Linked DNA regions of Homo sapiens: regions 1, 2 and 4 are each linked to region 3. Evidence: promoter capture Hi-C in 16 types of primary human blood cells and fetal thymus (Javierre and others, 2016). All regions are on one chromosome and are shown on one strand. The core of a region is centred on a gene start or on the middle of the fragment in contact, and the rest is flanking DNA. Distances in the headings are between cores, read along the strand shown.

Evidence for each region. Contacts are between HindIII fragments. The CHiCAGO score rates a contact against its expected background, and 5 or more counts as called.
Region 1: a fragment that was not itself captured here is called in contact with the fragment with the promoter of CASD1 in region 3 in 1 of 17 cell types (naive CD8 T cells); the score reaches 8.2 in naive CD8 T cells.
Region 2: a contact is called between the fragment with the promoter of KRIT1 here and the fragment with the promoter of CASD1 in region 3, in 1 of 17 cell types (naive CD8 T cells). The highest score is 5.1, in naive CD8 T cells.
Region 4: a fragment that was not itself captured here is called in contact with the fragment with the promoter of CASD1 in region 3 in 3 of 17 cell types (total CD4 T cells, non-activated CD4 T cells and total CD8 T cells); the score reaches 6.5 in total CD4 T cells.

The regions. Positions count from the first base shown.
Region 1 is chr7:91,880,863-91,887,779 of GRCh38, forward strand. It overlaps LOC112267986 (a long non-coding RNA gene), which reads left to right. Exons shown (of 2, transcript XR_002956514.2): 1 at 1-2; 2 at 4,754-5,618. Among named protein-coding and RNA genes, the nearest start is that of MTERF1, 3.6 kb to the left of the region's middle. The HindIII fragment of the contact is 4,536 bases long and covers 597-5,132 here.
Region 2 is chr7:92,243,932-92,250,633 of GRCh38, forward strand. KRIT1 (KRIT1 ankyrin repeat containing) reads right to left here and starts at 1,983. Exons shown (of 19, transcript NM_194454.3): 1 at 1,859-1,983; 2 at 971-1,240; 3 at 71-218. ANKIB1 (ankyrin repeat and IBR domain containing 1) reads left to right here and starts at 2,043. Exons shown (of 20, transcript NM_019004.2): 1 at 2,043-2,588. RefSeq lists an enhancer at 1,864-2,158 and a silencer at 2,089-2,478. The HindIII fragment of the contact is 4,029 bases long and covers 1-3,450 here.
Region 3 is chr7:94,504,210-94,511,725 of GRCh38, forward strand. CASD1 (CAS1 domain sialic acid O acetyltransferase 1) reads left to right here and starts at 5,600. Exons shown (of 18, transcript NM_022900.5): 1 at 5,600-6,008. The coding sequence starts at 5,876. RefSeq lists enhancers at 4,885-5,873, 5,874-6,860 and silencers at 5,394-5,613, 5,654-5,803, 5,904-6,263. The HindIII fragment of the contact is 8,005 bases long and covers 341-7,516 here.
Region 4 is chr7:97,112,685-97,120,000 of GRCh38, forward strand. It overlaps SDHAF3 (succinate dehydrogenase complex assembly factor 3), which reads left to right and starts at 5,014. Exons shown (of 2, transcript NM_020186.3): 1 at 5,014-5,213. The coding sequence starts at 5,040. RefSeq lists enhancers at 4,672-4,751, 5,102-5,191. The HindIII fragment of the contact is 1,525 bases long and covers 4,655-6,179 here.

The sequences.
Region 1 (6,917 bases), core at 1,615-4,114, 2.6 Mb before region 3:
CGGTGAGCGCGGGGTATTGAACGCCAAAGAAGGGGTTTGGAGGGTGGGGTGGGGCCTGGGACTCCCAGTCGCCTGGGCAGATGTCCGTGGGGAACTGTAAGGCATCTTATAGGGATCCTACAGGGGGCATCCACTGCCGGCCGACGACACGTGGTGGAAAAGTAGCTATTATTTACATGCGTGTTGCAGTTTTTGATAATGCGATTGCTGCTGCTAATGTGACTAACGCGATGCCGATGAACATCTCGGCGTTTTTTGGTGCAGGATAAGCGGGTGTAGACTCTGTCTGTTTAGTCCCAGATTCTCCTCCTTTAATGAACTACCGTGGAAATCCTGGAGTGTCACTGCTGGTCTGAATTCAGCATCCGCCTTCAGGCTGGAAATCAATTCTAGTATACTTCGATTTCCTTACTTGCAGTTCGAATTCAAATATGATTCTTTTGACATTGTGAGGGTTTGCGCTATTTAAAGAATGGAGGCAACCGAAACCTCATCTCCACAGTGGATGCATTTTTGCTCCCTCCCGAGGCGTTGCCTTAAGCCACGCGGTCCTGTCAGCCTCACCTGCCTAGTGATGGTGACAATGGAAGAGATAAAGCTTCAATTCAAGGCACTTCTCCTGTGACCATCAAAAGAAAGATAATATCTACATTAATGAATTAATTGTGTCTGTCGAGTTATCCTCAGGAGACGATGGTGATTTGGTCCTTAAAAAAACACAGGATCAACAGGATTGACCCTGAATTCTACAAAGAGGAAAAATTTCAGGCATTACTAACTCCTCCATGTACAAGCCTAATGATGTAATTTTCTGGCCGGGCGCGATGGCTCATGCCTGTAATCCCAGCACTTTGGGAGGCCAAGGCGGGAGGATGGCTTGAGGCCAGGAGTTCGAGACCAGCCTGGCCAACATGGTGAAACCCCATCTCTACAAAAAGTACAAACATTAGCCAGGCGTGGTCACAGGTGCCTGTAGTCCCAGCTACTTGGGAGGCTAAGGTGGGAGAATCACCTGAGCCTGGGAGGTTGAGGCTGCAGTGAGCCGTGATTGTGCCACTACACTCTAGCCTGGGTGACACAGTGAACCTTGTCTCAAGAAAGAAAAAGAATTTTCTTTATCCCATTTCTTTCTCCTTTTTCTTTTTTTTTTTTTTTTTTCCTTTAGACGGAGTCTCACTCTGTTGCCAGGCTGGAGTGCAATGGCGCGATCTCGGCTCACTACAACCTCTGCCTCCCGGGTTCAAGCGATTCCCCTGCCTCAGCCTCCCGAGTAGCTGGGAGTACAGGCGCGTGCCACCATGCCCGGCAATTTTTTTGTTTTGTTTTTTGTTTTTTTGTTTTTTTGTATTTTAGTAGATACGGGGTTTCACCATGTTGGCCAGGATGGTCTCGATCTCCTGACCTCATGATCCACCCACCTCGGCCTCCCAAAGTGTTGGGATTACAGGCGTGAGCTACCGCACCCGGCGTGTTTATCCCATTTCTATGCCAATGAACCAATTACGTTTTACCATCACTCTTCCCCTTTGACTACTCCTAGTTGGGTTGTTGTTGTCACTTTGTTTTTAATTAACTCTCTGTTTTGTTGGTTTAGAAGGATAAAGATTTATCTTTGGGAATTTAAAATACTAATAATCAGTCTATCTATTAAGTAAACTACTTACTGCAATTCCTCCAGGTAAAAATTAGTCCCAAAAAATTGGAGATGGCTTTTAAAATGTGAATTTCTAAAATCTATATTCCTTCTGCATGGAAGGAGCTCCTATGTCTGAATTAATATTATTATATATTATGTATATACACACACACAAACTGCTTTACAATCGGCATGTAAAATAAAATTTAGAGATTAAATTAAATAAAATAACCTTTGAGATTATTGAGCCCCAGCCCTCTCATTTTACAAATGAGAACACTGAAACCCATACAGTAGGAACTAGCAAGAGAATGCATGTCTTATATTTTCTTTACCAGTAACTCTAAGATTTATACCACATACTTTGTTGTATTGATTTAGCTATCAATAATTATTTCAGACTTACTTAGGTAACATCACCTATGTTGGTTTTTAGTGATATTTTGTCGGTAAAGGCAGATTGGTTCTTTTGAAAATAAGTTCCATATTTCCCATCAGAAATTTTCTGATTATAAATCTATTTTAATTGCATATTATAAAATACTGAAAGTATAACAATAGAAGTGTAATAATGGTTGGGTTAGGATGTTGTATAATTAATTAGGTTTCTTTCTTATTGTATTTCTTCAGTGATTTTTGAAATGTCATTACCTCCAGTAAGAGAAATGACTACTGCCTCATCGTCCTTTATGATGTTTTACAATAGGACCTGTATATACTTTGCCTGTATTTCATTTGTTTATTCAATGAACATTTTTTCAGCACCTTCACATTCCAGGCCCTGTTTTCAAGTTAGGGGACATAGTGGAAACCAAGACAAAGCCCCTGCCTTCCTGGACCTTATTTCTAGTGGCAGGTCTTACTCTCAGCCTGAATGTCTTCTCCTCTACATGCCTCTTCCATCTCCTTCCCCAGGACCATAGCAGACCCATGTCCCTACCAAGTTGATGTAATTAAGAAAAATAAAGTGGCTGAGTGTAGTGATTCACACCTGTAATCCCAACACGTTGGACTTAGATACTCAGAAGCTGGGCTGAAAGTCAAGTCTGAAGACAGAATCTGTGCTGTATTCAGAAGTGCCTCTGCCTTTTATAATTAAGAATTTTTTGACTGTGCCAAATGTGCCTGTTCCTCTGCCCTGGAAGTGTCCTTCTTGCTTTATGCAAATAGATTTCTGGCAAACCACAGCCCCTCAATTGACCATTCATTCATGTTTGAATCTCAGCAAGCCCAATTAAGGTCAAAAAGAAAGTGGCCCTTCATTCCTCCCACTCTTACCTTCAGTTGATACAACACCCGCAGACTCCTGGATTCAGTAGACAAATGCCTGCCCCACCCCCACATCAACTTCACAGACAGACCTGCTAGCTTCCTATGTGACTTACTTGAGGGCCCTCAGAGGACCATCAGGTCTCTACCCAGGACTCCCTTATTCCATTCTCTTGCCTGCAGCTGTTTTGGTTGCCAAAAGCATAAAATGTCTCCCAGTTGTTCAAGGCTAATTAAAGTGGTAGATAAAGTTACCCAGAGAGTCTCAGGTTAACACTTTGTTGGCAAAAAATAAAAAAGATTGCTTAATTTCCCCCCTTTTCACAATTGCTTTTTAACAATTTAAGATTTCTAAAGATTTTACTTCAGGCAACTTTATTTCTCTGAAGTGTGCCTAAAGACTTCCTGAGTCAGCTTTCATGCTCCCACACTCATTACCACAAGGGTCTGTGGCAAAGAACTGGATACTTAGCCTAGCAAATTTGCTGATTCCAGACCTGATATGACAGCAATTCCCATGGTAGTTGGATCAGCCTGACAGAGTTGGCCAAGAGAAACACAATAATCATTTGAGATGCTATTTAGCCTGGTGAGTTTAAGTACCTTTTGGATTGTTTGATCCTACTGTACCAAACCTTCAATTAATTACCGTGAAATGATTCTTAGTCATTGGTAGAAAAATTAGTCTCAACAGAGAGGAGGGGAGCAAACATTCACAAGATGAAATACTATTTTCACTGTCGAAAACTATTTTCCTTTCTATTTAAGGCGTTTCTTGAAATTCCTCCTTTAGAGATTTAGTCCTTGGTATAAACTGTGCTGATTTAAAATTGCAAATGTATTTGAAAGGGAAAGCATATTAAGCCAAAGGTCAGCAACCTTTTCCTATAAAGGACCAAATAGTATTTCAGGCTTTGTGGGTCACATACTGTCTCTGTTGCAAATTCTCTTTTTTCTTTCCATATTTCACAACCCATTAAAAGTATAAAAACCATTCTTAGCTTGGGGGCTGCTGGGCCACGGGCCATAGTGTGCTAAGACCTGCATTAAAAACGATAGTGAACTACTCACATATAACTAACTTCATTTGTTGATTACTATATTAAAGACATCCAAAAACTAGGAATTTTAAGAGAAAGTACATGGAGAGAAAAATAATATTTGAAAACATTTATGTAATGCTATCTGCCATGCACAATTCTAATCATTTCACCTCTATTAACTCATTTTGTTGTATAATGGAAGTAATATTATCTCCATTTTACAAATGGGGAAACTGAGATAGAGACTATGTAGCTTCCCCAAGCTCACGCAGGTAGTAAGTAAGGGAGCCAGCATTGCAACCTAAGAAGTCAGGCTCCAGCGTCTATGACTGTATTCACAATGCTATGCTGACACTCGGGGAGACATAATACTTTAATTTACGTTAGAAAATACAAATAAAGAAGAAAGGAGCAAAAAAATAATAATTTCACTTATAATTCCATCACCTAGAAATAACCACTATTTATATTTTATTTATATTATTTTGGTTTCTATCCTTCCAGAACATATGAAAGAATATAAAGCAAAAGAATATAAATAAAATATGTAAACTAAGTATTTTAGGCATTGTGGGTGACATATTGTGTAGCTGTAACTGAAGCTAAGTTACAGTTATATGTGAGTAGCTCATTATAGTTTAATGGAGGTCTTAGCAGACTATGGCCTATATACATATACCCATAGAGTATATTGAATATTTTTATTCAACCCTATGAGGCAGGTATCATAGTTTTGCAGATGAAACTGAGGCTCAGATGAATTAAGTGACTGTGTGTCTTCGTCCATTTTTGTGTTGCTATAAAGGATTACCTGAAGCTGAGTAATTTATAAAGAAAAGAAGTTCAATTGGCTCACAGTTCTGCAGGCTGTACAGGAAGCATGGCACTGACATCTTCTCAGCTTCTGGTGAGGGCCTCAGGAAGTTTACAATCATGGTGGAAGGCAAAGGGGGAGCAAGCGTCTCATGTGGCAAGAGGGAACAAACAGGAGACAGGAGGTGCCACACACTTTTAAACAACAGGATCTCACAAGAGCTTACTCTTACAAGGACAGCACCAAGAATATGAGGAATCTGCCCGCATGACCCAAACACTTCCCTCCAGGCCCCACCTCCAACACTGGGGATTACATCTCAACACTGGATTTGGAGGGGACATCCAAACTATATCAAGGCTGTACAAGAAGCTTGGTGCCAGCATTTGCTTCTACGCAGAGCCTCAGGCTGCTTCTACTCACAGTAAAAGGCAAAAGGGCATGCAAAGATCATGTGGCAAGAGAAGAAGTGAGGGATGGGGGATGCCATGCTCTTTTTAACAACCAGCTCTCATGGGAACCAAGAGGGACAACTCACTCATTATAGCACCAAGCCTGTATCCCTCCCATTATGCCCTACCTCCAACATCGAGGATCAAATTTCAACATGAGGTTTGGAGGCTCAAATATCCAAACAATGGCATTATGTCAGGATCATAAAGCTAATGTTTGTGAAACCAGGATCTGAACCCAAGCTATTGCTTCTAGAACCTGTACTCTTAAGCCCTTGCTTATACTGCATTTGAAATTATGCTTCATTGTATAAAAAGTCCTTTTCACCTCAAGCTTATAGAGAAGTCACCTTGTTCTTAAAAAGTCCTTTACACTTCAAGTTCATAAAGCTCAGGCACATATATTTTCTTCCAGTACGTTCATTATTATTTTTCTTGGTTTTCCTTTAAATCTTTGAATCATCTGGATTTTATTTTGGAATGAGAAATGAAGTAGAAATTTATTTTTGTTTCTTTTCAGAATGGCTGGTCAATTGTCCTAACATCATTTAATGAATAGTATTTATTTCCCCTTTGCTTTGAAATACTACTTTATCATATACTAAATTATAAAGTAATCTTTTATTATCATTTTTGAATGACTGCATTCCAGTTGTGGAAGATATTACTCAAAGTCTGTTGTGATTATCTAACTTAAGTGTTGATATGAAGAAAGGAAAGTAGGTTTCAGCCTGATTTAAGAATTTTCCTCCTCTCCCTCTCCCTCTCCCTCTCCCTCTCCCTCCCCCTCCCCCTGCCCCTCCCTGTCTCCCTCTCTCTCTCCCTCTCTTTCTACGTCTCCCTCTCTTGCCGAGCCTGGACTGTACTGCCATGATCTCGGCTCACTGCAACCTCTCTGCCTCAGGCTCCCATGATTCTCCTGCCTCGGCCTGCTGAGTGCCTGGGATTCCAGGCACGCACCACCACTTCTGACTGATTTTTGTATTTTTGGTGGAGACGGGGTTTCACTGTGTTGACCGGGCTGGTCTCCAGCTCCTGGCCTCGGGTGATCTGCCCCCCTCAGCCTCCCGAGGTGCTGGGATTGCAGACGGAGTCTCGCTCACTCAACGCTCAATGTTGTCCAGGCTGGAGTGCAGTGGTGTGATCTCAGCTCGCTACAACCTCCACCTCCCAGCCGCCTGCCTTGGCATCCCAAAGTGCTAAGATTATAGCCTCTGCCTGCCCGCCACCCCGTCTAGGAAGTGAGCAGCGTCTCTGCCTGACCGCCCATCGTCTGGGATATGAGGAGCCCCTCTGCCCAGCTGCCCCGTCTAGGAAGTGAGGAGCGCCTCTGCCCAGCCGCCAACCCGTCTAGGAAGTGAGGAGCGTCTCTGCCTGGCCACCCATCATCTGGGATGTGAGGAGCGCCTCTGCCCGGCCGCCCTGTCTGGGAAGTGAGGAGTGCCTCTGCCCAGCTGCCCCAAATGGGAAGTGAGGACCGCCTCTGCCTGGCCGCCCTGTCTGGGAAGTGAGGAGCGCCTCTGCCCGGCCGCCCCATCTGGGATGTGAGGAGCGCCTCTGCCCGGCCGCCACCCCGCCTGGGAGGCAAGGAGCGCCTCTGACTGGCAGCCCCATCTGGCAACTGAGGAGCGCCTCTGCCCGGCCGCCACCCCATCTGGGAAGTGGGGAGCGCCTCTGCCCGGCCGCCCCATCTGGGATGTGAG
Region 2 (6,702 bases), core at 733-3,232, 2.3 Mb before region 3:
TTTATCATTATATACTTCATGAAATTTTTTTCAGTTCAATTTTTTGTATAAAATCATTCTTAAAACCCACCTCATGCAACAGACCTTCCTACATCATGTGAAAAGGATGAGGCCTTTTTCTTCTCAGAATTTCTATTTAGCAATTACTTTTCACCACAGATTAACAATGACTTCAAGATAATAAACGTTTACAAATTATGAGACAGACGCATTGAAGACTGCAAGCCCCAAAAAGAAAGACATTGTATTGTGAATACACTGTATGATATATGGGCACAATTACAGAAACCATTTTATCTATTAAGGACCTAAAAGAAAAATCAAGTAACTCTTACTTTTCTAAAGACAATTTAAAGCAAATCAATTCCTGTCTTGGTCAACTCATGTTAAGAAAACATTTACTAGCAAAGTACTTTGTCAATACTCATCACTTCTCTAGAATATTTAATTAATACTGCACAGAAGCCTGAACTTTTAAAAGGTAAACAAATGTGATTTTAAAAAGACATAACTATGACAGTAACAGTATTTTGTTTTCTTAAACCAAATACTTTTTTACCATATCCCCAAAATATTCTTAAAATTCATTTTCAAGAACTATTCGTACTTGACTACTTAAAATCTACATTCTTCCAGTGACATGAAAGAAGGAAACAAAGGCTTAACAGGAAAATAACAAAAGTAACTAACATAGGAAGGTAAAACTGCTAAGGGAGAAACACAGACAAACTGATAGAAAATGAGTAGCTTGAACTAAAATACAAGAAAGGTATAACTAGAGTTTGCAATATGTTTAGACTGAGTCTGAGATGAGGGTTCAAGTGAATAAGTACAGGAAACGTGGCATTTTGTTATATGGCTCACTCCATTCTGGAAAATGTTAGGCACAAATGATAATATGCTCCCTAAGTAATAAGATCTTATAAATAAAGCAGTGGAAGTGGTCCTTAATTAGGGGGGTGGCACCTACCTGGGATCACTGGAAAATATGGAGGGCATTTCTGGTTGTCACTATGACTGATGAGGGGAGATGTACAACTGCCATTTAGTGTCCATGGAACAGGTTTGCTAACATCCTCTTAGTATGCTAGACAGCGTTTGCAAACAGAAACTGTAAAGGCACATATGCACTCCAGAAGGGTAAGAAAATAATGAGGCTGAGATCCTGAGTTGGACCACCGAGATGAAAGACTTCTGGTGAGGCTAAAAACATGTAGAAAAAGCGATGAAAGCCAAAAACCTTAAAAGGTGGAGAAAAGTGTAGAGGCGAGAAGTGAGTTACAGGGGGAGAAGTGAGTTAGAATGACAAGCTGTGAATCCCTTTCCCTGCAATGACAAAAATACGTAATCACTCTGCCTGGGAGGTTTTTTCCTGCGCCACCACCCGTCAACGTCCACTACTGGGGAAAAACGTAAGCCTCTTTGCTCAAAGAGTTTCCACCCAAAAAGTGGCTATGGTTTCTCTGTAACTACATGTGAAAAATAAACTCCTTGCCTGGGGCAACTAGATGTGGAGATGGTTCAGTCTCCCACCTCCGTTTTCCCTCGCTGGAGTCGAACTTGCTCCTCCTGTTTCCCGAAGGACACCGAGAGGTCCCACCCGTACGGGCTGCCGCGAGTGCCTCTCTGGCCGCTACATTCAACTAAATGGGTGGGACAGTCACCTGGCGAGGGGGGGCAGGGACCGTCACCGCTTTCTCATTCCTCCTTCCCTCCTCCCAGGCACAGCAGCCCGGCCCAGCTTCCTGTGGCAGAAAAACCCTCAGTCGCCAAAAGAAAGCCGTCTTGAGGGTTCCCCCGCGCTCCCACCCGCGCCCCAAAAGCTCAGGTCTCTGGAGTCGGAGACCCTCCTGCCCACCTGCTCTTTACTGTCCTTCCCTCTCCTCGCACCTCAGCACCATTCACCCCTCACCCTCTCCCGAAACTACGGGGTCCCAGGTCTTCAAAGGCCTTAGCTTTCCACCCCGCCGTTACCGTGGCTATGAAATCGCTTCCGGGTTCACACCCTTTGCAGCCTCGCGGTTGGCGGTGAAAGAGCTTCCGGGTCGGCGGCCGGGCTGCTGCCGTTCCTGCTCCTTTTCACTGGACCTGCAGTCTCTCAGGGGCTGGTGGCAGGCGACTAGGAGACTAGGGTGGTGGCGGTGGGGGTGCCAGCGGCTGAGCCGGAGCCGGAGCCGGAGGCGGGGGAGGGGAAGAGGGCGGCCGGGGCTGCGAGCGCGCAAGGCTGGAACATGAGCCGGGCTTGACCGCGAGGCGGAGGCAAGAGCCACCGCCCCCTCTTCCCCTCCCCCGAGTGAGGCGGCGCAGCGGCCGGAGAGGGATGGGGGGCGCCCACCCAGTCTGAGCCTCGCCGCGGGCGCCTTCGGCTCACGCAGCGCTTCCCGCGGGCCGCCAGTGCGCACCCTCGGCCACATCAGCCTCCGCCTGGCGGGTGCACCCGGGCCGGCGAGGAAGGGGCAACCGTCCGGGTGGGTGGGGCGGGCTGGGTACCTGAGGTCACCAGCTCGGCTGTAGAGGCAGGGGCGGCGGAGGCGGAACTGCGGAGTTGCTGGGTCCACCGACCCTTACCCTCAGCGAGAGAAGTAACCGTAAGTCTCAGCTTCGCGGTACAGATGTGTTTGAGGCTGCCTCTACCCATTTGTGGCTCCGAGTTCAGAGCTACCTACTTCACACCCTCCCGGATCTACTAGGAGTGTGTCTGTCGCCTGTTTTGGAGCATTGTTGTTCTGTCTGTCCCCATCCCTGAACAGGCAGCATTCTCTGCCCTACAGGGCTTTTCTCCCAGCGAATTTGCAAGCCTCCGGGTCTCCGTGACGCGTCCCATCCTCCCCATCTGGATGCATCTCCTTGTCCCTCTGTCCTCAAAGGATCTGTGTCCTTCCTCGCAGCCTCCCCCCCACCCCCATCCTTTGAGACGTGGAAAGCCACGGGTTCTGCCGACCTCGGGGGCTAGAGAGAGTCTTGAGAAGCGGATGGGTAAAAGTGCTCTGCAGGGCTGTGATGGGTGGGGATAGGTGCAGATGGCTCCAGTGAACCTTTATTTTTGCAGCTTCTGCCACCAAAACAAAAGAATGGAGCGCTCCCCTGTATTCTTATTCTTCTCCGTATGTATGAGCTGTTTTTCTGTACGTAGCTGTTTGAGTCGCAGGAAATTGAAACTAGAGCTGTAATAAAGCATCTCCTGAGGAGATTTTGAGAATTAGTCTCCCAAGCTCTATTCACACGGAATGGCATATCGAACAATCTTGTATTGGAATGACCATTTCAGAAGAGCTTTACTGGTAGATCTGACAGATAAATGTAAAGATAAGAGTCTGCTGTTTCAAATAGTGTATTTTAGATACCTTTAAATTTTAGTGTTCTAATTTTCATCTAGTTCTTAATTTGTGAAGTATGTGGGTATGTGTAAGGTGTAAAAATCTGTGTATTGGAAGGTTTTGCTTTGTTACAAGCTTTTGCTTTGTTGCTTTTGAGACAGACGTTTAAAGATCATATTAGATTGTATTTGATAATTATTTTCAATCATTAATTCCAGAGAAATCTTTTTTTGTATCAGCCACTCACAGATGTTACACACCTTGGTGCCTATGACCCTCCTGCTGCTTAAACTGTGAATGTCTTCAAAGTATATTTTCAGATTTTTGAACTAGGCGTTTTTTCTCATTAGAATTTGATTTGCTTTTCAAACTGCTCCTGCAGAACTTTCCAGAAATTAGATTTAAAAATAATTTTAATGCTGTCAGTGATTGGACAATAGCTCTTATATGACTTTATGCATTTGCTACTTTTCAGAGCACCATAGGAAGCAAACGATAATTTAAGAATAATTTTACTGTGTACTGCAGGTTGTCATTCTGCAAACTACTGTGTAGTGTAGACTGGTAGCTTTGGTGTTTTGTGTTGCTGAAAAACATTGTCATTTCATTAAGAAAGATGGATGTGTTTAATGACTTTTCCCCCCAACCTCCTTTCAGCAGTTGATTTTGGGCTATTATCTGATTTGTAACTTCTCACTGTTCACAGATTTTAATTTGAAGTAGGCTCAGGAGATGTAGCTCCAACTCTGTCTCTGGAAATGTACTTAGCACAGAAGCCAAGCACTGTGCAGAGTTGAGTGTATTATTAAGGGTGTGGCTTTTGCTTTCTGTAAAATTGTTCAGTTTCTGAATAAGAGTAGGGTGCTATAGTGAGGTGATGGGCGCTATCTTGGAGAAGTCTTAGAAAAAATGTTGTTGATTCTCTTTTCCTTGGGGTAGGATGGGGAAGATAGAACTATATTTTCCTATTTCACTGTTCCCTTGACCACTACACCGAGAATTTTGAGTTTTCAATATGTAAGGAGTCTGAAACTGTGCCAACTGTGCTGTAAACAAGGGCTCTAACAGGTAGGTGACTCCTGAAACATGGGAGGGAAGTTTTGTTAGCCACTCTTTTGTACTCCTGTGGCACTGCCCACTTCTCAAAGAGTGGGTTTTCTTTCCTCTTTCTTTTCTGGGGTATGCACTCAAACTTGTGAAAGTGAAATATGTGTATTTACAACTTGCTTGTAGATAAAAGTGCGAGCTCATTTTCATATATAAGTAGATGGAAGAACTATGAATTAAGTTAATCTGAATGTCCTTGAAATGAAGTTGGAAAAGATTCCTCAGTGCTTTGGGTAATTTTTCCCCCATTGAGGATGCATATGACATTTATTTAGATTAAGTTTTAAAATATTTCCTTCAAATATTTGACACATTTGCCAAAAAGGATTTGGGAGTGGACTAAGTCATTATTAAAGAGACCAGTCTGTGGGAGTTTTTATACATTGATCTAAAAATGTTTAGGTTTTTAATTTACTTTTCAAAGTGACTTCCTTAGGGGGAATGGTAATTTTTGGATTCTCAGTTTATTTTTCAGATAACCTCAGACTGCCTCTTTCTTTTCCAGATACTTTTTTTCTTTTTTCTTTTCTTTCTTTTTTTTTTTTTTTTTGAGATGGAGTCTCATTCTCTTGCCAAGGCTGGAGTGCAGTGGTGTGATCTTAGCTCAGTACAACCTCCGCCTCCTGGGGTCAAACGATTCTCCTGCGTCAGCCTCCCAAGTAGCTGGGACTACAGGTGCCCGCCACCACACCCGGCTAATTTTTGTATTTTTAGTAGAGACGAGGTTTTGCCACGTTGGCCAGGCTGGTCTCAAACTCCTGAACTCAGGTGATCCGCCTGCCTTGGCCTCCCAAAATGTTGGGATTATGGGTGTCAGCCACTGCGCCTGGCCTTCCAGATACTTTCATGTCCACTTCATTTCAGTAAACCTTTGTTGAGCATCTACTGTGTGTGCCAAGCACTTTTATTAGGTTCTGGAACTACCAGGGTAAATTAGTCAAGGTTCCTTTCCTCATTGAGGTTACCAGTCTAGATATTTGACTGTGATTTCTATTCACCTGCCTTTATTGGCTTCTCTTACAGGTTTTTAAGCCACTTGACCCTGTTGCAAGGTTGTTTCATATCCTGTGTATAAGAATAAGCGGCCGGGTGCTGTGGCTCACGCCTGTAATCCCAGCACTTTGGGAGGCCGAGGTGGACAGATCATGAGGTCAAGAGATCAAGACCAGCCTGGCCAACATGGTGAAACTCTGTCTCTACTAAAGATACAAAAAACTAGCTGGGTGTGGTGGCACGCCCCTGTAATCCCAGCTACTTGGGAGGTGGAGGCAGGAGAATCACTTTAACCTGGGAGGTGGAGGTTGCAGTGAGCTGAGATCGCACCATTGCACTCCAGCCTGGGTGACAGGGTGAGACTCTGTCTCAAAAAAAAAAAAGAATAAGCACAATAGATGCCATTTATTGAGTGCCTAATTTGTGCCAGTCACCATGCTAAGTGCTTTACATACGTTATCTCATTTAATCCTTAGAACAGTCCCAAAATATATTTTATCTCCATTTAAAGATCTCCCCCCCCACACGCGAATAAACTAAACTAAATTATTTTAATAATAAAAAGCCATACAGAATCTTGTGTATAGTATTACTGGATTTTTTTTTCTTGTAATATTCTCGAAAAGATTTGACTTACAGTCCTTAAAGGGGAGAAGCTGTCGTACAGTCATTAACAGTTTTTAATTCTCTAATATTGCTTTGAATAGAAAAATCCTAATTTCATAAGGTACTAGTATATCTTGTGTTCTAAAGCAGATAATTTGGCTGGGTGCAGTGGCTCACACCTGTAATCCCAGAACTTTGGGAGGCTGAGGCAGGCGGATCACCTGAGGTCAGGAGTTCGAGACCAGCCTGACCAACATAGAGAAACCCCATCTCTACTAAAAATGCAAAATTAGCCGAGCGTGGTGGCACATGCCTGTAATCCCAGCTACTCGGGAGGCTGAGGCAGGAGAATCGCCTGAACCCAGGAGGCAGAGGTTGCAGTGAGCCGAGATCACGCCATTGCACTCTAGCCTGGGCAACAAGAGCAAAACTCCGCCTAAAAATAAATAAATCAATAAAGCAGATAATTATATACTATCAAAAATAATTTTCAGTCATTGTTTAAACTTTTGAAAAGACATAATTCTAAAGTTCATTATGGTTAACTGTAACAGATCTTCAGGCATGTTTACCTTTTTTTCCCTCTAGTTCTACAACGGGACCACAAGCTTTTAAAATGTGCTAAAAATGTGTGTATTCTCCAGGAAGGGTAGAGTATTGAGCCATGTGAAATCTATTC
Region 3 (7,516 bases), core at 4,350-6,849:
GAATAGTAAGAGAAAAGCCACATATATAATATTCCTGGCTTGTAGTTTAGCATGGTTTGATGAAATCAGAGCTAAGAGAGAAAGGGAGATTTAGGGCAAATCACGGACAATCTTAAACATGTTGACAGGTTTGTTATTCATTTTGTTCCAATAAAGAACCACCAAAGATTTTGAGCAGGTGCATGACAAGATCAAATATAAGTCTTAGACAAAAAAATTCTAGCAGCAATTGGAAAAAAAGAGATTGAAAAGTGAGAAACCAGAGGCAAGGAATCCAGTAGAGCCTGTTGCAATGGTCAGGATACAGCCTGAACCAGAGCATTCTGGAGAGGAAAAGAAAAGCTTTGGGGAAGTCAGAGTGAATAGGATATGTTGATTCATTAGATAAGTCATTCCAATTTTTGTGACTGTGTGTTCACATTCGTTAAAAATTGGAGCATGCACTCCTCCAACTTTTGCATATTTAGTTATAAATTATATACTGCTCTACTAATGTACTAATATAATACATGTAATTTGAAACATTCATACATGCTCACAAACTTTTTTTTGCTCTCAAAGAGCAAAGATTTAATTCACGTTTTGGGTGCTTAGTTTCTAACTGTCTTGCTAATGTTGATGGCTTTGTATCAGTAGTAATTCTCAAAGTACTGTACATTTACAGCAAGGTCCATAAATTCTTATTTCAAACAGTTTTGGAAATTTTACTTTTTTCTGATATCTTACAGATTTAAGTGGCCATGATATATATCATACATATGATATATATATATACACATACATACATACTTTTTTTTAACCATATAATGTAACTAATAAAGAGTTGAGTTTTTTGGTTTTTGTTTTTTTTTCTGAGACAGGGTCTCACTCTGTCACCCAGGCTGAAGTGCAGTGGTGTGATCTTGGCTCACTGCAGCCTTGACCTCCTGTGCTCAGGTGATCCTGCTACCTCAGCCTTCTGAGTAGCTGGGACTACAGGCATGCACCACTACACCTGGCTAATTTTTATCTTTTTTGTAGAGACAGCATTTCACTATGTTGCCCAGGCTGTCTTGAACTCTTGAGCTCAAGCACTCTGCCCACCTTGGTCTCCCAAAATGCTGGGATTACAGGCATGAGCCAGCATGCCCAGCATAAAGGGTTTTTGTGTTTTTTTTTTTTTTTTTTTTTTTTTTTGAGATGGAGTCTCACTCTGTCACCCAGGCTGGAGTACAGTGGCATGATCTCAGCTCACTGCAACCTCTGCCTCCCAGGTTCAAGCGATTCTCATGACTGAGCCTCCCGAGTAGCCGGGACTACAGGTGCAGGCCACCATGGGTGACTAATTTTTGTATTTTTAGTACAGAAGGGGTTTCACCATGTTGGCCAGACTGGTCTTGAACTCCTGACCTCAAGTGATTCACCCATCTTGGCCTCCCAAAGAGCTGGGATTACAGGCTTGCACACCTGGCCAAAACCCTATACTTTAGATGAGTAGAAGGCAGAGTAGAAAGAAGATGAGTCAAAGATTAGCAGAAATGACTTGAAGGATAGTGTGCCAATGAACTAAAGGGAAAATTAAAAGGATAAACAAGGTTTAGAAGGAAAATAAAACTTGTTTTCCAACATATTGAGTCTGAGGTACTATGCGAGTCATTGAAGCTGTCCCTTAGGTATATGAAAATGAGAGGACCATGAGAAGCCAGGTTGCACGTGTGGATCAGGAGTGATAGTTGAGGCCAACTTACAATTTAGGTTTGCTAAGAAGAGAAGTAGGCAAATGAGAAACCTGAAAAGCGCTTTTAAAAAGGGGCTTTGAGAAAGGAAGAGGAATCTTCGGAGATGCATGAGAAAGGTAAGAGGAGAGATTTGAATAAAGCAAATATTTCAAGAAAGCTGCACAGCCAAGAAGGATAAAGCTAAGATAAATATGTTGAATTTGGTAATTTAGGATGTGGCCCTCATTTGAAAGAGTGGTTTAAGTAAGTAAAGTAGTAGGGACATAAGTTAGTTTTCATGTAAAGAACTGAAAAATAGTAAAAACAATTTTTTTAATGGGGAAAGTAACCACAAACTGTTCCTTCAGAAGTTTGGTGGTGAAAAAAGAGAGATTGTGTGGTGCATTAAGGAAGATAGGATGAATTTGGCAAACAATGAAGAGAGATAAATTAAAGGTAGAAATAAGGAAGGGGAACTTAGGAGACCAGATTCTCAATGAAATGATATTGGTATAATCATACACACAGGTGAGAGTGACAGTTTTGGGAAAGGGGAGGAGGAATTTTTCTTTGAATCAGAAGGGAAAAGATAAAGTGTAGCAGTTTGTTTTAGAGTAATACATAGGGCCGGCTTTGTGGCTCATGCCTGTAATCCCAGCACTTTGGGAGGCCGAGGCGTGTGGATCACCTAAGGTCAGGAGTTGGAGGCCAGCCTGGCCAGCACGGTAAAACCCCGTCTCTACTAAACATACAAAAATTAGCCAGGCGTGGTGGTGCACACCTGTAGTCCCAGCTACTCGGGAGACAGGCAGGAGAATCATTTGAACCTGGGAGGCAGAGGTTGCAGTGAGCCAAGATCACACCACTGCACTCTAGCTTGGGCGACAGAGTGAGACTCCATCTCAAAAAATAAAAATAAAAATAAAAATAATGCATAGGTTGAGAGAGTTTCTGTCAGATGGTTTCTGTCTCTCTCTTTTTAAAATATTATTAAGGTGTGAGGTAACATGCTGAGCATTAGTAAACATTCTGGATAGCTCAGGGGTCAGGAAATAAACGTGGAGCCACTAACTAGTTTTTAGCAGGAAATGACATTACGAGATTTTAATTTAAGAAAGTTCTGTCTGGTAAGAGGTATGGCAGAATGGCAGTAGGGTTGGATTTTCGAGTGACCTGAGAAAGACGAGTAAAAGGATAAGAAATGCAGGCAAGAAATCATCCCTTAACCAAGGTAACAGCAAGTGGATAGAGAGGGGGCAACACAGTTGAGAGTTATTTAGAAGAAAGCAAGGATGACTCAAACACTTGCTTGGACGGCTGGGTTAATGATGAAAACTTAGGCATAAAGGTTGAAAGTAGATAAAGGAGAAGGAAGGTGATGAGTTTGTTTAGGAAATGATATATATTAGGTACCTGAAGGATATCCTAGTAGGCAGATGGTTCTTACAGCATGAGGATAGATAAATATGGACTGACATATCAGGTGTGTGTGTGTGTGTGTGCGCGCGCGTGTGTATAAGGAAGGTGATCCCATGGCAGTGGTGGGACCACTAAATAATGACTAAGTGATCCTAAGGTCACTTAAAAACAGCAAGAAGTGGCTGAAAACAAAGTCTCCGCTCTGTTTTAGATGGATACCAAATAAGGAAGAATGGTCAACAATGTCAGGTGCCACAAAATGGTCCAGGAAGATAAGGAATATAAAGTGTCCCTTGGATTTAACAAGTAGTCATACCACACAGCCTTGGTGAAGAACAATGAAATGGCTGAAGAGAGAATGCTAATTGAGCCAGTGAAGGCAGAGAGTCAACACTGCTCTTTCTAGATGTTTGCCAGAGGAGGAAAGAGTTGATGAGGTAAACATGCAGGAACAGAGTCCATGGGTGTTTTTCATTAAAAAAAAATTTTTTTTGGAGGAAGGCAAACAGCAAGGTGATAGGGAGAATTGGAAGACACAGAAAAAGAATGATTTGCATGGGGATAACTGATGGAGGAATCAACACCCTCAAGAAAGGAGGATAAGAAAAGATTCAGAGCAGAGGTAGAGAGATTGGCCTTAAACTTGAGAGAAGAAAAAGGAGGTTCACAAGCTATTTACAGTATTTAAGAAAGCCTTCTGGAAATTGCAATTAATAGAATGTCAAGTTTCTTTACTTTTTGCAGGCATTAACTCAACCCTTTGGGTTAACACTGGTTATTGCATGCTGATCAGAAATTCTAATTTGCTGGTAATGACATCATAGAAATGTCTAGGATGTGATTGGCAGACCATATATTGTTGGCAGAGTTATCTGGTTTTTACAATACCCAATTCTTACAACATGTGATCAACCTCTGATCAGAATGACAGCCAAAATTAAAAGACTATTTGCAGGGAACAGTGCCTAAGTGTTTGTACACTTATTTAACTTTATTGCTTATTAGCATTACATCCATGACAGTGATGTATGTGATTTCATTTAAGTGACAAAATCTTTCAAGATATAAAGTCCATGGATGAAAACATAATAAAGAGTCCTTGGATGAAGAGAATGGGAATGAGTAGACAAGATCTCTACAGTCCCTTCATATCTAATATTCTATAATTTTAAGAGGGGCCTATAAGCACAAGTTCAGGAATGGCTAAATGGGAAAGTTGTAAAGAATACTTGACAACACCCCAACTAAACAATGACTCACTCTAAACAAGGCAAGGCAAGTAGAATGGCAAGCAATGTAAATAACCATTCCCATCTGGAAGGCAACAAGAAAAACCATTTAAAAAAGGTGGGGTGGGAGCGAGAGGAGAGTAGGGATAACAATGCTTTATTAAGGAAATGGAGTGCTGGCTTTATTGAGAATCACAAAACATTAACCAACGTTAGTAGCGGGGATGATTGTCATAAGCACATTAAGAAAAATTTTTTTTGGCTAGGCTTGGTGGCTCATGCCTGTAATCCCAGCACTTTGGGAGGCCGAGATGGGCAGATCATTTGAGGTCAGGAGTTCGAGACCAGCCTGACCAAAATGGTGAAACCCCCGTCTCTATTAAAATACAAAAATTAAACGGGTGTGGTGGCGGGCGCCTGCAATCTCTGCTACTCGGCAGGCTCAGGCAGGACAACCATTTGAACCCAGGAGGGGGAGGCTGCAGTGAGCGAAGATCACGCCACTGCACTAGAGCTTGGGCGACAGGGTGAGACTCCCTCTCAAAAAAAACGAATTTTTTTGGCACATCGACCTAGCCAAACTTGCGTAAATACAAGTGAGAGTCAGACTCTTTTCTCATCAACACCTACACTAAGTTAGGCTCCTTCTGTACCTTCCATTCGGAACTTTGGTGTACTTTCGCCCACCAGAACTGGGCAAACTGAGGACATTAAAAAAACGGTTTAAGAGAAACTGGCCAGAGCGGTGAGTTAAGTGTTAAGACTGGTTTCACTCCTGGGTTGGATGCCAGCAATCCATCGGCCAGCACCATCAACTGGATCCATCAATCCAATCTGGCCAGCACCCAGGGGCAGCCAGACTGACCAGCCAGGCCACGGATAGCCAGACAATAAACGACCTTAGGGTGTCCTTCGCATCCCGCTGGGCGGGTTCTGGCAGTAGAAGGCTGAGAAAGGGGAGTGTTGGGGAAGGAAGGAATGGGACGATGTGTACTTTTCTCCCGGAACTGTAGTTCTATTGCCCCAACCTGGGCTCAGGTAGCGGCCAGTAAACTAGGAGACAGCCCTAAGGCTCGCGTCCGGGCCAGGCGGGTACCCCTAGTACTCTCTCCCCACACCCCCATGGCTCTGCCGCAGCCGCCGCCGCCCGCCGGGGCGCGTGACCCGGTGACCCCGGAGCACTGGGCATCCGGACCCCCCTCGCAGGCGCAGCCGCTATTAAGGCAGGAGGCTAAAGAGGAGGAGGAAGGGGAGGAGACAGGCGTCCAGGGCGCCTGGGGAACCGGCACGGCGGAGCAGCGGCGGCGGGGCTGGGGGGAGGCCGCCGAGTCGGCCGCGGCCGAGGAGGGGCAGGCGGAGGTCGGGGGCGCCGCGGCCGCGGGGTCAGGTTCCCCGGCGGGAGGCGCAGGTGGCGGCCTGGGGAGCTGGCGGCCGCTCCTCGCCTGGCTGCAGCGGCGGCAGCCCCAGTGCTGCCCCTGTGCGGCGCCCCTTTCCCGCTCCGCCGCGCACTGTTGTCATGGAGGAACCAAGATGGCGGCTCTGGCCTACAACCTGGGCAAGCGGGAGATCAACCACTACTTCAGCGTGAGGAGCGCCAAGGTGCTGGCGCTGGTGGCCGTGCTGCTGCTCGCAGCGTGCCACCTCGCCTCCCGCCGCTACCGAGGTGAGCGGGCCCTCCCCTCTGCCCGGGCAGGCCGTGGGGGAGGCGGCGACGCGGCGGCTGGAGGCCGCCCCCATCGCCCAACACACGCCCACGCGGCCTTCCGCCGGCCCGGCCCGCGGGGGAGGCGGTTCCCCCAGGTGTCCCCAGCAGCGGCCGGCGCCCGAGGCCAACTGAGTGGACCCCAGTGGGGGCCACCAAAGGACAATGGCTGGTGGTTCTGGGCGCCCCGAGCCGCCCGCGCTGGGGTCGGGGGCGCCAACCCTGGACCTGGCCAAAAGTGCTGCTGAGGTCCGGCTCCTGAGCGGTCTGGGTTCGGGGAGACGCTCCAGATCAGGGGCTCGCGTGCAGGAAGTCGGACAGGCGGTCCTTGGGGGCAGCCCGGGGCGCATGAAGCCCAAGGCCGCCCTGCAAGGGGCACCGCTGCCAGCAGTGGGGTCGCAGGTCCTGCCTCTTAAGGGTCCGGCTCCTTAGCCTTTGTTTAATTTTGCCTCTGCCCTGTAACACCCAGTCTGGGCTGTTGGACAGCGGCAAGGGCCGCCCCCATTTTCCTTTGCCAAAAGGGCGACAGCTGGCAAAAGATGCCTGTGGCCAAATGGAAGAGGTGCCACCCAGCTTTTGTGATGCAGAAACGTTTAAAGGCTTCGGAGTGCACACTTTTTACAAAGTTAAGGCACCAGAGCAGATTTTTGGAAGGAAGTTGTGGGTTGACAGGCGTAAAGGTGGGCAGTTGAAAGCAAGTTGTAAGCACTTTGAAAGCAGGCCTTGGCCATGGGTTTTGAAATTGGTGTAAAGGGGAAAAGGAAATATGACCTGATTTGAGAATGAATTATCTTTCAGTAATCAAGGGATATTTACTTCTCCTTGCTGATTGATTGTTTTTTTTCCTTTGTAAAAATGTCACTGGGAGAGAGGCTGACAGGCAGAGGGAAATTAATAATGATAGGATCTTTTATTTTTGGCTCTTAATACTATCAAAGCCATTATCTGGCCAGCTCTTGGTGACTGTGAGATTAATCAGTCAAGATGTAATGTGTAATGGACAGGTGCAAATTAGCGCTGTGCCCGTTTAAATTTACACCTACTTTGGCAAAATATCCATAAACGGGTTGTTGGAGTCTGCGCTGTATTCTCATCCCAGGAGATCTTTCAATTTTGGTCAGTTTTGCTGCTTTATTTCTTCCAACTCTTGAGAATTAAAAATATTGTACTCTAGAGCCATACTGGGTGAACAGCTTTTAGTATACTAAATTGATTTTAAAAATTAGATTCTTTATAACCTTTTGGCCTCTCTCCAGCTCTCTCCAGATCACAGCCATACGACCTTGCAAGGCCTTGGTTTATCTACAATCATGTAAAACTAGCAATGTTGATGCATTGATTTGTGGTGGTTTTGAGGAAATATTTCTTTTAACTACTATTAATCATTTTATGCCAATTTGGTATAAAAGAACAGTAATTTAATTCAATTTATGTAATGGTAGTAGAGAGAAATTTTATAACTACAGTAC
Region 4 (7,316 bases), core at 4,167-6,666, 2.6 Mb after region 3:
ACTGAACAAGATAATGCAGTTTTTAGTTTATCCTTTTTGCACAGTAGTTATGTTTTTGGGGAGTCAGAAGTTATATATGAATTTTTAACTGGCATCCCTAACCCTTGCATTCTTTAAGGGTCAGCTGTATGTGCATTTTTTTCCCTTTTTACACAGAATTTTGCCTACTTTGTCAGATGTTTTTCTATCAACTAAGATGCTGGCTTTTGTGTTGCAGAATTCATTGATTTCTATTTTTTTATTATTATTATTATTTTGGAGACAGAGTCTGGCTCTGTCGCCCAGGATGGAGGGCAGTGGCGCGCTCTTGGCTCACTGCAACCTCCGCCTCCCAGGTTCAAGCGATTCTCCTGCCTCAGCCTCCCCAGTAGCTGGGACTACAGGTGCCCGCCACCACACCCGGCTAATTTTTTGTATTTTTAGTAAAGACGGGGTTTCACTGTGTTAGCCAGGATGGTCTAGAACTCCTGACATCATGATCCACCCACCTCGGCCTCCCAAAGTGCTGGGATTACAGGCGTGAGCCACCACACCCGGCTATTATTATTATTTTAAAATCAGGAATGGGTGTTGAATTTGTCAAATGTTTTTCAGCTTATGAACAATGGTCATTTTTTTCCTCCTTATATCTTATAGTATATCATTAATACTTTAAATTATAAAATATAACATTTTATCTGGACTTTCGATTGATTTTCTGTTCTCAGTAATCAACAATTATAAACATTTAAAAACATTCCTTATGGTTTGCTTTTTCTCTCCAGATACAAACACATTAAGTTTCTCTTTGATTTTTTTTTTTTTTTTTGAGACGGTATCTCGCTCTGTCACCCAAGCTGGAGTGCAGTGGCGCAATCTCGGCTCACTGCAAGTTCCACCTCCCTGTTTCATGCCATTCTCCTGCCTCAGCCTCCCGTCTCTGGTATTTTTTATGTAACATGTTTCAGAAATTCAGAAAAATGCTAAAGACTATTATGCTTTCTAAACTGACTTTCAGAGAATGGACTTTCCATGAATGTATTTGCTTTTCTAATTCCTTGAACAGTATGTTTAAGCTTGAAATTTTGGTTTTAAGACTATCTGCTATCTTACCATTGCATTTCAATAATTAGACATACCAGATACCATTTAAAAACGTTAAAGAATTCTTTTCTTTTTATAGTTTTAATCGTCACACAATGATGTACCTAACTTTGAGACTCCAAGGTAAGGTGGGAAATGAAAGACAATTTCTGGTGTTGTTTTGGGGGACCATGGGTAGTCGCAATGGCCAGATCAGGTTTGTACATCTCTCTAGGCCTCTAAGCATGTGAGAGCTGTTTGGGTTGAAGATGTATCTTGTCCCAGACTTTTCATTGTTCTCAGTAATTTAGAACTTGAAATTTGAGTAACTATAATTTGAAAACTGAGCCACTTGTGCAACTGAATTCAAGACTGTAAAAACCTTGTTTTCTTATCTAATGATGTAAAGCAGCTTCCAAATCTTTTGTCATCAGTTCTCCCCCTCCCCACTCCTTTCTCACTTCCGTTTGAGAGAAAAATGCTTTAGCATTATTTGCAAGCAAGTCTTATTTTCAACATTTTAGTAAAGACTAGAGTATAATACAAAGTGAAAATTCAGTACACTCCATACAGGTATTTCTTCTCCTTTAATTTATTTTTCCTCATTTACCAATTCTCTCCATCTCTTTTGACCTCAAAATTCTCTATCTGCTTGCCAAAAATTGTCCCTAGCTGCCTCCTTCCATTTCTAGCTGTGTGTGAGGTAGTCCACAGAAGCAATACACTGAATAGTGCAGTTGCTGTGTTGATCATCCCTATGGCTATAGGTGGTTATTATATTTTGTGTGCCCTGAAAGGCTTAGGTGATGTGTTCCATATACAATTTTAAGGCATTTACCCCACGTTTTTCTAAACAAAAAATTTTTAAAGCAATTATTTAAGAGTGGATATATGTTCTCTTTCACTTTACAAAAAATTTTGGAGGGAATCTGAGAGAAGTCATGGTTAGAGATTAGTAAAGTTGGAAAGTACTGCAAATTACCTAACCCAGCTCATTTACAAGTGAGAAAATCTGGGCACAGAGCGGTTAAATCACTTGCAGAGTAACATATAAGAAAAAGAAACACATGAAGGAAGGATAAAGGAAAGGTCTGCATGAAGTGTAGTGATCTAGATTGGTGGCCAGAAATATAAGTGTGATTTTATTTTCAGTTCATGGCTATTTTTACCACAAGAGGAACACTGATCAGCCTAAATTGGTCAGGGAAACAGAGAAAAGTTTTGTCCTCAAAACATAGCTCACTGTCCAGCTTGTTGTAAAAAAAATAAAATAAAGGTTAACTGTCATTATTCTCACTGTTATTGCTTTATTCCACTTCTCAAGGCCTAACCACACCACTATGTCTTGGCTTCTCTTTCACCCATCGTCTGCCATTTTGAGCATTGATTCTCCAATGCTTTGTGGACCCTTTCTACTCTCTTTAGGCTCAATTAATTCCTTTATTTTTTAATTAATTCATTGGCAGAATGTTTTCTCACATTTTTATAAGAGTGTTGGCTCTTGAAAGAGGTATTTATTACACATGTTCTTTAACTCCAAAGGAAACCAGAAAAAAACAAACGGGGACAAGAAATCAATTTTCAATTTTACAGGGATATTAACAGATGAAGTATGGTTAGAAAAAAATTTCCTGAAGCAAAATAACCACGCTGCCATTCAATCCTTGCCATTAATGCAGTTTGTCATAATACCAAATTAAATCCATTTTTAAAAAGTTCTGTGTTTTTTAAAACACATATTTTCCCTAAATTTAAGCAAAAGGAGAAGCTCTATTCAAAGCAATAAATTCTACTTACTATTTGTATGGCACTGTGGTGGGCCCTGAAAAGGATACTAAAATGAGTAAGTACCTGCCTTCAGTAGCTGAGTGTGTCTTGTTTTTCTTTCAGAAAGTTTTTGCACAGAAAGAAGTCTGGGGTCTGTGAGACAATCACACAAATTTCAACATTTCTGCCTCTTCTTCACCAGCAGGAATATGAGGCATCTGACACCGTTAGTGAGTTTCACACATTAATTCAACAGATATTTATTGAGTGCTTACTACAGACCTAGTGCAGGTCACTAACAAATCACAAAATCCCTGCCCCTATAGAATTTGTACTCTAGTTGGGGGATAATAAATGGAGAATAAGCACATGAGTAAATTATGTAAGTAATATAGAGAGAAACAAAGCAGAGGAGGAGCATAAGAAATTCTTGGTTTGGTGAGGTTGCAACTTCAAGCAGGGTTTCAAATAGGGTTGCCAGGGAGGGTCTCATTAGAAGGGGACCTGAAGTATGCGCTGAGTGAAATAAAAGTGTTAGCCAGGAAGATACATTTGGCAAAGCACTCCAAGTAGACGGGACAGCAAGTGCCAAGGCCTCAGTTGGGAGTGTACCTGGCTTTTTAAAATATGAACTAAGAGCTAGGAGGCCAGTGTGGCTGCAACTGGCTAACTAGGGAGAAAGCAATAGGAGAAAATTTAAACCTTTAAGGGCTAGAGACTGGGCTTTACTCTGATGAAAATCCCTGGAGGCTTTTGTTGAGCAGAGGAGTGAAATGATCCGATTTACAGTTTAGATTGTTAAAAGAAAAACTTTAAACAAGTTAAATCTAATAAAGTTTATTTGCACGAGCGCACGTGCACACACACACACGATTTATGAGGCATTCATCAGGCAGCAGCACTTAACAGGGAGAGGTTCAGAGAGCTCTACCCAGCACTGTGGGCAGGCAGTATTTATAGACAGAAAAAGGAAGTGCCCCACAGAAACAGCTTGATTGCTTACAGTTGGGCTAGTCTTATTTGGGCAGGACATTATGACGTATTTGCCTTATATGCACATAGTCTGATCAGTTGGCAGCCTGTGATTGGCTGAAGCTCAGCTACTTGTCACAAGAATATACTCTCAGTTGCAGTTAATTTACATACTAAGTTAGGTTGCAGTTCCCTACATAGCAACTCAGAGTAGGGAGGAAATTTTAGGCCAAATTTAATTTAAATTATGTTGGAGCATGACCAAAGTTGGTCATGACCAGAAGCTGAACACAGATATGGAAGCTAACACAATATCCAGTGGAGAGAGATTGTGGTAGAGTACATGGGGCGAAATGGTTGATTTCTGCATTTTTGTTGGTGACGCCATCAGGATTTGCTGAAGAACCAAACGTGTGACAGGAAAGGACAACACAAGGAGCTGCCAGCTTTGGAAACCAGTTCTACTCTCAGTATTACCTTCGCAAAAGATAGAGCTTTGTAAATTTCTAGATTCCTCGTTCTTATTATCCTAGACTATTTAACCAGAATCTCCAGGGTCGTGGTCCTGGAAACAATACGTTTAAAACTCTTCCCAAGGATCCTTCAGCAGCCAACTTGACTTTGGCTAAGGAGTCCGCCAGCTCTGGGCTCACTTGGGTTGTTTGCAAGGAAGAGCCCATGCCCAGAGTATAAATTGGGAGAACAGCGCTGTGCAAAGAGCGTGGGTTGGTGAGCTAGTGGATGGCGAGATTAATCTCACTCTGATCCCTAAAGCAGGGTGCAGTAATACTCTAAATGCCTCAAATGGGTTGGGAACCATGGAAGGAATCCCGGAGGAGCCCGATCTTAACGAAGCTTTTCTCAGGCCTTTGGTAGGAGGACAGAAACGAAGTTGAATGAAAAAGACAGTGGAGTGGGACTGAGAAATGACAACGGCCCACCACAGACCTCTCTCTTTCAAGGCCTGTGTCGTCAGGACGCAGGCCAGAAGAAGCCACGACGAGGCGCAGGCGCGACTCCACGAGGGCCACGCCCCTCCTAGAGAAGGACCGACCCGTTTTCCGCCCGCAGCGGAGCTTGGGTTTCCGGGAGGACCTGATTGTGCAAGGGACCAAACCGGATAGAGGTCGCGCGCCCTCTTTCGTCTGCCTTCCGGTTCACTAATACGCAAGTTCGCAGAAGTGCGGGAACGCGCCGTCCCTCTGCGCAGGCGCAGTCGGCGGTCGGCGTGGGGCGCTATGCCGGGGCGGCACGTTTCTCGAGTCCGGGCATTGTACAAGCGCGTCTTGCAGCTGCACCGTGTTCTGCCCCCGGACCTCAAATCCCTGGGCGACCAGTACGTGAAAGACGAATTTAGGAGACATAAGACCGTTGGTTCTGACGAGGCACAGCGTTTCTTGCAAGAATGGGAGGCAAGTGACGCTCCCTTCTCTTTGCCCAAGACCTTTGGGGTTCCTCGGTGTCCAGGTTTCTAGTTCCAGTCCCCCATGCGGGGTTAAACAGAGCAGCAACCTGTTCTGTTTGAAATAGCGTAATGCTGTTCAGGTAACACTTTCCAAAGTTTCTCCCACGGGTTTCTCACTAGAGCAGATCCTGTTACTTCAGCGTCCCCAATTCAGTTCAACTTTTGAGCTCCTGCAGATGCCAGGTGCTCAAAGGGTGAGGGTAGGAGGTCACAAAAATGAGCAAGTCGTCGTTAAGTGCTCAAAAACCTCAGGAGCTTTTTGTCCTTTTAAGTGCCTTTGCACCTAGTAAGCGCCCATTAATAAATTAATGGTTCTCTTATTAGTTTTCAAATTTAAAGGCTTATTTCCGTAATTTATTATTTAATCTCAGCGCTTTTGGTTGGGTTTAAATAATTTTCTCACTTGGCTGATACAGAAATCAGGTAACATGAAAAAGATTACAAAAGGTTGGAGATTACAAACTGTGAAGGAGAAAAATGCTGGTGGCAGTTAAGTCAGGCGAAAGTTGTTTCCTCCGGTCTCAAGTCATTGTTACTTCGCCCTGCACCATTGCGCTAAATATTAAACAGACACATGCATTAGCAATAAGTCGTTTGACTTTTTTTTTTTTTTTTTGAGTAAAGGAAAAAAGATATTCAGAGTATTTCGTGGGGCTCGGGGCCCTGCAGGATTGCCCCTAGTTTTCATTTGCAAATATAAATAAATGAATGGAATTAGAGATTGGAATGACAGCTCAGATATTTGAAAGCATGAGTTGGAGCTGATATGAAAATAGAGGTAAGCGGTTCTTCGGCCTAAATAGTTGAAGGGGAGATGACTGAAGTCGGCTTTGTAAAAAAAAATCAAAAGAATGGTTAGGGTGAACACAAACTTTGCACTGACTTCCAGAATTCTTTTTTGTATAATTATTGAAGCTTTTAAGAGCGACATTTAGAACAATCGGGAAATTTAGAACTTTCTTGAAAATCATGGTGTATTTGATGTAATTCGCTTGCCTGAAGCAGGGAAGTTGAAGCTTTTCAGACACAGAGCACTTTATTTTAATAAGGTAATTTGGTTTTGGAGCCTGAAGAACTGGATTCAGATTCAGTCTCTGACATTTTAAGTGTCAGATCACATAATTTTTCTAGTCTTATTTTCTCATCTATAAAATAATAAGTGTTTATGCATCTCAAAATTTACGTATGTAAATGTATTTACAAGCACTTGTGTATTGCTAATTGTTATGAAGCTATAAGATACTGTATTAAAGTATTTTACATCTTTTATGGTAGGTCATTTTGTGGCCGTACAGGAAGGAGAGTAGCTCTCTGTTGGGAGGAAATAAGGTTATTTTAAGAAGTCTTAAAATGTAAGCACATGGAAGCCTCTTTGGGAAAAAGTAGGAAAGAGTAGCAACTCAGAAAAAATTGATAATAGGTTGTAGGAGAGAGAGAGGGTATAAAAAAGAACTGCATAAATAAAAAATGTGTTAGTTGACCTAGTAGGCTTGGTAACTGGGATTGAGCTTTTTAAAACTTGGAATAATTTTAGACATACAGAAGAGTTAGAAAGACAGTAGAGAGTTCCCTACATCCTGTTTCCCCCTGTGTTAGCATCTTACATAATCAGGGTACAGTGATCAAAAACAAGAAATTAACATTGCTACAATGCTGTTAACTACAGACTTTATTTACAATTTGCCAGCCCTTTCACTAATGTCCTTATTCTGTTCCAGGATCCAATGGGGATTCTACAATGCATTTAGTTATTCTTTTTCCTTAATCTCCATTCTGTGACAGTTGCTCCGTCTTCCTATCTTTCATTACCTTGATACTTTTTTGAAAAGTACTAGTCTGTTACTTTGTGGAATGTATCTCAATTTGAGTTTGTCTGATGTTTTCTCATGGTTAAATTGATGTTATGCATTTCATAACATCTCAGTAAGAATACCACATGGGCAAAGTGTTCGCCTCAACACTTAATGTCAGAGGGCACATGATACTAACATGACTTCTTACTGGTGATGATAACTGTGATCACTTGGTTAAAGTAATAATCCACGTGGTG